Linked DNA regions of Homo sapiens: region 1 is linked to region 2. The links are contacts of gene promoters, found by promoter capture Hi-C in human tissues and cell types (Jung and others, 2019). All regions are on one chromosome and are shown on one strand. Each heading gives the region's core, a stretch centred on a gene start or on the middle of the fragment in contact. The rest is flanking DNA. Distances are from core to core; before and after follow the strand shown. Region 1 has its middle 26 kb from the start of CST9L. Region 2 holds the start of CST8 (cystatin 8).

The links. Contacts are between HindIII fragments. The study calls those that stand out against the background at their distance.
Region 1: a contact is called between a fragment that was not itself captured here and the fragment with the promoter of CST8 in region 2, in 1 of the 25 tissues and cell types used here (stomach).

What each region holds. Positions count from the first base shown.
Region 1 is chr20:23,540,192-23,544,766 of GRCh38, reverse strand. It overlaps the pseudogene CST13P. Among named protein-coding and RNA genes, the nearest start is that of CST9L, 26 kb to the left of the region's middle. The HindIII fragment of the contact is 4,942 bases long and covers 1-3,994 here.
Region 2 is chr20:23,488,719-23,492,651 of GRCh38, reverse strand. It overlaps CST8 (cystatin 8), which reads right to left and starts at 1,535. Exons shown (of 4, transcript NM_005492.4): 1 at 1,310-1,535; 2 at 754-1,127. The coding sequence starts at 984. RefSeq lists an enhancer at 1,571-2,071. The HindIII fragment of the contact is 12,460 bases long and covers 1-3,071 here.

The DNA.
Region 1 (4,575 bases), core at 274-2,773, 52 kb before region 2:
ATTTCCTTTCATGCTCATATAAAAATATTGCTGTTAGTCAATAAACTCAAAAATTCCATGAGTCAGTGAAACTGTCTTGATCTTAATTCTTCATCCTGACTCTGACTCAGTGGGTCAACAGAGGCCAGATGGTTTTGAAGAGCTAAACCTGAACCCATGCACAGATCACATTAACAAAACTGACCTTAGATGTGGGCAGTAGGGTTTGGTATGCCCTAAGACAACATGGGGTATGAGTATGATGGAAACAAGCAGCCCGGGACATGTGAAGACCCAGGTCCCTCCAATGTTCAATCACACTGTCAGGGCTCAGCAAAGAACACCTTCCTCCATGGGCTGCTCATGAGACCACATAGGGCTGGCCAGCTCAGGCCAAGAAGCAAGGGAGACCAAGTCCCCCAGATGGACAGGTTGCATACCCACGGAGCTTGGGGATGAAGGCGAGGGTAGATGAGAGAGATGTGTCCTCAGGTGCTGCAGCTAGTAGCATAGGGATCCCATTCCTGAGGCAGGGAGAGAATGGAACAAGAACTGCTCTGACAGTGTCCCCACAACCCTGCCAGCACATGGGAAAGAAAGGGGCCCAGGGTTGTGCGGGGCCATGAAGAACGCCACTTCACCTGCCCGCCACCCAAGAGCTCAACTGCTGGCAGATGTTAGAGAGTGCAGGTTGAGGACTGACCTCTTACCTTTTTTTCTTTATTTCTGAAATTCCTGTTTAAGGACCTGAGGAATCATGCCTTGCAAACCATAAAATTTCATCAAAAAGGTCCTTTCTGACCCAGTACATTGTGACTTGTTTTCCAACCTGACTCTGGCATGGCATCACCTGACAGATAGTAGAGCCCCTTAGCATTCCTTTCTACTGACTCCATGTTTTAGACAAAGCTTAACTTTTTCTACCAATTTCAAACTAAAGAATCCCTAAACCCACCTAAAACTTGTAAGCCAATGCCTTGAGATGTCCCACCTTTTGGGACCAAACCAATATATACCTTCCATGTATTGATTTATAATTTTACCTGCAACTCCTGGCTCCATGACATGCTTCAAACTAACCTGTAACCGGACCACCTCAGCCACACTTTCTCAGGACCTCTTGAGACTGTGTTTCCCTTTCTTGGTCACTCATATGGCTCAGAATAAACCTCTTTAAATATTTTGGCAGAATTTGGTTTTTCCGTTGTCAAGGTAAAGGGTATCCTGATTTCTGATCTCAGCCAGGCAAGCCCCTGGGGGTCTCAGGGTGCCATTTACAGTAGATCTGGGTTCCACTATCAAGTTGGCTCCTCCAGAAGCTGACTTGGAGACAAAAAATTCAAGTACAAGTGGCTTATTTAGAAATGATTCCAGAAAGGCAGTTGAAAAGTGGAAATAGTAAGGGGCAGAAGCAGCACGGATAGTGAGATTAGCAATATGGATAGCTAGGGCTCAGTCTTGCAGGACACTCCTCAGTGACTGGGTAGACACAACTTGGCGTTATATCCCAGGGGATAAAAGGCCAGGATGTTTATCCTCCAAATTCTATCATTGGCTGAGGGCTCCTCTCAAGGGTATTACCCACTGGCACTCCAGCCTGCCCTTCATTGGCAGAGAAAGCCATTAGGCAGAGAGGCTCAGAAGGTTGCAGTCAGCCCTGTCGGAGAAGAGCCCTCAAGGACAGCTGTCATGCAGGTGGCCTCTGAGCATCACCATCCTTCCGTCATGTGTCTAAGTTAGAATCTGACCCTGTATTACTACTGGTTATTACACAATATTGTCTCCTTGCCCCAGCCTGCACATTGGTGCTGCTGTCTAAGCATCAGGATTTCAAAAGTGCCTCTTTACGGTCATGGTATCACCTTAGTCCACTCTCCATACACATGCATGCGCACACATGCACACATGTGTACACACTGTAGTGGCTGGCCTCCCAGATGGCCTCCAGTGACCCTAATCTCTATCTTTATGTCGTTGTGTAGTCCACACTGAGCCAGGGCTGTTCTGGGTTGAGTCTAGTTTACAAAGGATACAGTGGCTTCCATCTTGGTCTCTGGGAACACTGTGTCTGGAACAAGTCATCCAGGATACCAAGCTGACGTACAGTCTTGTGGAGAAGCCACGTGGAGAACAGAGACCTCAGTCAATAACCATTATCAACCTGCAGGCATGGGAGTGAGCTACCTTGGAAAGGATTCTCCAGAGTCCATCAAACCTTTAAATAATGGCAGCACAGTCAATATCAGAGTGTAACCCAATGAGATGTGACAACCAGAGCTGCCCAGTCTGGCCATCCAGAGATGCCTGACTCACAGACACCATGAGACATATAAATCAATTGCTTGAGCCATTAAGTGACCAGGTGACTTGTCATACAGCATTAACTGATACATCTAACTGTGAGCACACACTTATGCACAGACATGCACACGTGTGCATACACACAAACACACACACACACACGAATGTAGTCTTCTCTCCCTGCATCATTAACTTTTCTGCTTCAATTCAAAACCAATGAAAATCTCTAAATGGCCCAGCTGTCTCTCTGGTTGGATCTGGTTAAAACTAACTTTCTAAGCTAACAGGCTGTGTCTTCCAAAAAGTCCTGGGAAGGGAGATTTCCGTAGAAATCCATGGACGGAAACTCTCAAGGCAGCCAGACTCTCAGAGCCTTACAGAGAGTGCCAGCATGCTTGAAGCAATTGAGGGCTGGGTCCTCTGGTTATCTAGAAAGATTTGTCCATGAAAAGTAATTTGTACTCAGAGTTGGGTGAGGTGTAGAAACCACTTCCATTTATTGCAGCAGATTATCCCAGCTAGTAGGGGAAGTATCCAGCAAGAATAGGCTATGCAATGCTGTCAAAACACATCATGGATTTTCAACATCAGCCCATGAAGAACACACAAAAATGCAAAAAGGCCAAACAAATGAAGTTAATGGGTTAACTGTGTTGTTCTAGTTCTTGCAAGTGTCTTTGCTTCTTCTTTAAAATGGAAATGAGTGTGGCAGAACACACTAGAAGATAACTACATATCTTTGCATTGTTTCTTCAGCATGGTGAGTTCAAATTTCCATGGTTTAGATGCAACAATAAAAGTACAAAAAACCACCTGAAAGAGACAAAAAGAATAGTCAGTTTCTATTTTAAAAAGAAGGAAACAAAAGCAGAAGTTCCTATTTCCAGGCAGGAGTTAGATTCAGCAGGGCTAATCTGTCTGAGTCAGCCACGCCTCATCAGAAAACAGAGGATCCAGCCCCCTCACCAGAGGAGTCCTCATCAGTTCACCTCTTGTGATCTGAGCCATCATGGGTGTGGCTTTATTCACTCCAGGAGAGCAAGGATCAGAGCCCAAGGACAGGTTATTATTGGAAAATCCCCATCTCCAGCCCTGACTCTCATCCAGCCACATGGACTCCCTGTAGCCTACAGAGACCCCATGCTGCACAGACAGTCCTACCCAGGGAATGCAACATTGCAAGAATATTACCAGGTCCTGCACCCCTTGGGGAAATAAAAATGTGCCAGCAACCAAGGAGGAAAGCTTGCAGCTGTAGGGCTGGAAGGAAACAAGTAGCTCTCATACCAGAGTCCTGCAGAACATGTGGGTTTCAGGATCCATGCATGGGAATGAGAACACTGTTTCCCTCCTCTCTCCTAAAATCTTCATTTAGAATAAAAATATAAAGTAAGAATACTTCTATGAAGTCAGTGTAAACTTGAATGATAGCATCAAGTAGAGAAGAAGTTGTGTAAGATATAAAGGTGTAGGAACAGTTTTGGGGAGAAAATAGGACACGCCACCAGCAACCCAGACAGTGCCTTGCAGAACTGAGTCCAGGCTTCTGCACCTGGGCGGGAGGGGGAATCCAGGGACGAGGGAGCCTGTGTGTGCCAGTGGTGCAAACAGAGAGAGTGGGCATCAGGTTTGCCAGAGAGGTGACTAAGTAATTGCTTAACTTCCGGACCAGCCAAGGTAGACAGAAAACAATCAGGAAACAGAGGACCTGAATAACCCAATTATCAAGATCAACCCTAGAGGATATTTTAGCAATGTATATTAAAATTTTTAAGAGGTGAAAAAATATTGGATGACTAATTCCATTTCTGAGAACCTTGCCTAGAAGGAAACAAAAATCAGACATAACACATATAGAAATAAGACTATTCATTATAGCCCTGTCCATAGTAGCTAAAAATTAGGGAAAATCTTAATCAATTCTCAGGAATTGGCTAAATAATATATGGAAGCATCATAAAATAATATCAAATGGTTGCATTACATGATGCTCTCTAATAATTTTACAGTTTTGGAAATGCTTAGGTTTTATTATTAAATAAAAATCTAGATCATGAAACAGTATTCATCAGGGTCTCAATTACAAAAAATATAAACATAAAATATTTTTAAACTAAAATACATACCAATATATTTACAGTGGTAAGATTTACATAAGGTTATTAACAGATGATTTGAAAAAGCTTAATATTTTTGAAAATTTCCAAATTTTTTACATTGAATGAATCAGGCCAATAACTATTTAATATTGTTTTAAAATTTATTTTCCAAGGATCCCAGATATCCACACTTTCT
Region 2 (3,933 bases), core at 286-2,785:
CTCAGTGAGGACTGAGAGGTGAAAGGTGGGCTCTTCAGAACCATCAGCTCTCCTGGGCCTGAGATGCTCAGGTTCACACAGGCCTGACCAGGGGACAGCCCCCTCAGCCACATTAGGCCCCAGTCCCTCAGATTCCTGTGAAACCTCCCATCCTCTGGGGTTTCCCCACCCAAAGCCCCTCCCACCAGCTCAGCACACAGTCCATGAGGACCCATGCAGGCATGAGTTTGCCTGTCTTGTTCTCTGCTGAGTCTTTAGTGAGTAGAACAGCAGTAGGTTTATAGCAGGACATTAGTATTTGTTGAACTCATTAGTGACTGAATGCAATCAAGGCTACTTGTGATGTCCATTTAAATCTGTTTTCATCTGGCATTAAAGGATTACAGCAGGAGATGAAGGAGTGTCTGCTAGTTGGGTCCAGGTTCACCTGGACTCACCTTTATCAGATCTTTTCTCATGGCTAGCATTCTATCTGTCTCCCAACCTTAGCAAATACATGAACATTTGATTTGCAGTTTGGGGTTTAAATGAGTTAATCTATGCGAAGGACTTAGAACAAAAGCGCAAGCGTTTGTAGAAAGTGCTCTGTGTGTTCACTGCCTTATTGATGCTGTGGAAGTGTCTAGGCTCTTAAGCATTCACATATTTAGGATTTTTGCATAGTGATATTTTTCTTATATGCCCACTCTTTCAGTCTGGCTTCAACTGTGCCACCATATGCAAATGTCCACCTATATGGAAAGACACCTTTACCTGAAGCTGGGCTTGCAGTGTCTTGACCACCAGGAAGACATACTTGTCCTCGCTCTCTTTGTTGTATTCTTGCATGGCAAACCACAGACACTGCTTCACGTTGGCATTTGAGGCATTGACGGGTTTTAATTTCCTCAGCACCCCTGTCTCATTCTTTTTTGGGTCTTTCCTGGCCACCAGGGCCAGGGGAATGGTGAGGAGGATCAGGGAGAGCCACCGGCACCTGGGCATGGTCCCTTGGGCAAGAGGCAAAGTCGACTCTCCTCCTCGTCGTCTCAGGGCTGGAGCTGTGGGCAGGATGGGGTGGCCGCAGCTGCTGCTGTGGGTTCAAGAATCTTCGAGCCACACACTGCCTCCTGTTAGCGTCAGCCCAGCTGGATTCAAGACAGGCCATTAGGGTCACTCTTTGGGGTTTGTCCTCTCTTTCTCCATGGAAACCCACCCAGGAATGCCAGTTAAGGAGTCTCTCTACCAGCCTCCCCTCCTTACCCTGAGAGCAATCTGTGTGTCTAGGGAGAGTTCCTCTCCCCTTCGGCCCCAGTGTGTCTATGCCTACCCCTGTGAGCGTCACTCTTGTTATCTGCTTCTCAGTCCTGTATGATGTGATCATGAAAACTGTGGCTGCCCCAGAGGCCTTGTGGCCTCAGCCCTTGGTGGACTTTCAGCCTGCTGTGCCTGCAGCTCCTTCTTACTCCCTGTGGAGCTGGGAGCTGACCTGACCAGTGGTTCTCCTAGGTCTTCAGCACTCTTAGTTCATGCCTGTGGCCCAGTCAAGGGTCTCTGTGGGTCCTGGTCTGCGGTCTCTCTTGCCCCTCTGAGTCCACGCCCTGCAGGGAGGTTACGCTTTGTGATGTAATTCAGCACCTGTGTCTTGTCCCAGTGAGGACATCTCCCACTTGCCAGCCTCCGGCCTTTGGTCTAAACAGCTCTCACAGGGGCACAGAGAGCAAGCAAATGCCTCCTGCTGTGCCCTCAGAGTCAGGGGCCTGCAATGGTTAATACTGAGTGTCAACTTGATTTGATCGAAGGACACCAAGTATTGATCCTGGGTGTGTCTGTGAGGGTGTTTCCAAAAGAGATTAACATTTGAGTCAGTGGGCTGGGGAAGGCAGATCCACCTTTAATCTGGTGGGCACAATCTAATCAGCTGCCAGCGAATATAAAGCAGGCAGAAAAACGTGAAAAGGAGAGATGGTCCTAGCCTCCTAGTCTACATCTGTCTCCCATGCTAGATGCCTCCTGCCCTCGAACATCAGACTCCAAGTTCTTCAGTTTTGGGACTCTCAGACTGGCTCCCCTTGCTCCTCAGTTTGGCAGACAGCCTGTTGTGGGCCCTTGTGATCATGTAAGTTAATACTTAATAAACTCCCTTTTATATACATATTATTTATATATATAATTTATGTATATTTTATATATATATAATTTATATGTATATTTTATATATATACAATTTATATATATATTTTATATATATAATTTATATATAATTTTTATATATAAATTATATATATTTTATATATAATTTATATATATAAATTATATATATTTTATATATAATTTATATATATAAATTATATATATTTTATATATATAAATTATATATATTTTATATATATATAATTAATATATATATAATTTATATATATATTATATATATAATTAATATATATATAATTTATATATATATTATATATAATTAATATATATATAATTTATATATATATTATATATAATTAATATATATATAATTTATATATATATTATATATATAATTAATATATATATAATTTATATATATATTATATATATAATTAATATATATATAATTTATATATATATTTTATATATATATAAAGGGGAGTTTATTAAGTATTAACTTTATATATATACACAACCATATATATCCTATTAGTTCTGTCCCTTTAAAAGAACCCTGACTAATACAGGGCCCCTCTGGCATCTTCTGCCCACCTGTGCCAATGACTCTGGCTTCCTGAATGCCTGGCCTCTGAACTCCCTTGGCTTGGGCCAACAGTAACCCCCTGCCCTGTCCTGCCAGGGTAAGGGTCACGTGGCCCACTCTGATGCCCAGGCCTGGCCCTTAGTGGGAGGAGGGGGGCACGCACCTGTTAAGCTCTCAAAGCTTCTGCTTTTCTGTGAAAATCCCAAATCAGTGTCCAGAAAGTTCCTGGTGAGGCAGAGAGGTGAGCATTCTTCCTAGGCTGCAAAGATCAATGGGTTCTATGAGCAAGGGCAACGTACAGAAAACACATATGGGGCAGGAATCTGTCAGGCAGGTGGCAAAGCATTGCAGACTACAAATGCATTATGCTGTATTTAAACTTTCTCCCTATGACTAGATTCTTCAGTTTCTCATTTTCAGCTGTTACAAACAGTATTGCAGTGAACAATCCCTTTCCAATATCTTCATGATGTTACACAAGTGTTTTTGTAAAATAAAAGACTAGATGTAAAATTGATGCAAAGCTTTACGCAAATTTAAATTTATTATTTATTGCCAAAATGTTCGTCACTTACTAATTATATATTCATGATTTTCAAATCCTGCTGCATGTTAAAAGTACTGACGGAGATTTAAAACACCAGGGCATACCTAACTGATAAAATCAGAATCTCTGGAACAGGGTCCAGGAAGCCAGCTGTTTTTAAAGTTCCCCAGGGGTTCCAATCTGCAGCCAAGTTTGAAAATCAGTGTAGTGGATCTGCACTTCCTGATATTAATGTGCACATGAACCACCTGGGACTCTCGTTAAAATGTAGGTGCTGAGTTTGTGGGTCTGAGGCAAGGCCTAGATTCTGCATTTCTAACTAGCTCCCCATGTGATCCAAATTCTGCTGATACTCAGATCCCAGTTTGATTAGAGAAGTATTGACCTGTGACAATCCCTGCTTCTTCATATCTTTGCCTTCAGCCTAGCCTTTCTTCATGGAATAGATGATTATGTTCCGTTTATTTGATTTGTACTATTTGTATTATTGGTCAGGGTTAACCATGTTTTCATAGAGACTCACTGAGTCTAGGAGCACCTGATCTGGGCCCCAGGAGGCATGTAGAGCAGACTTCCCCTTGGTGAGGCCAGCTGTGACACCCTGAAGCAAAGCCAAGCCTCCTGGACAAGCCAAGGAGAAGTCAGCCTGTAGACCTATGTCCCTGAA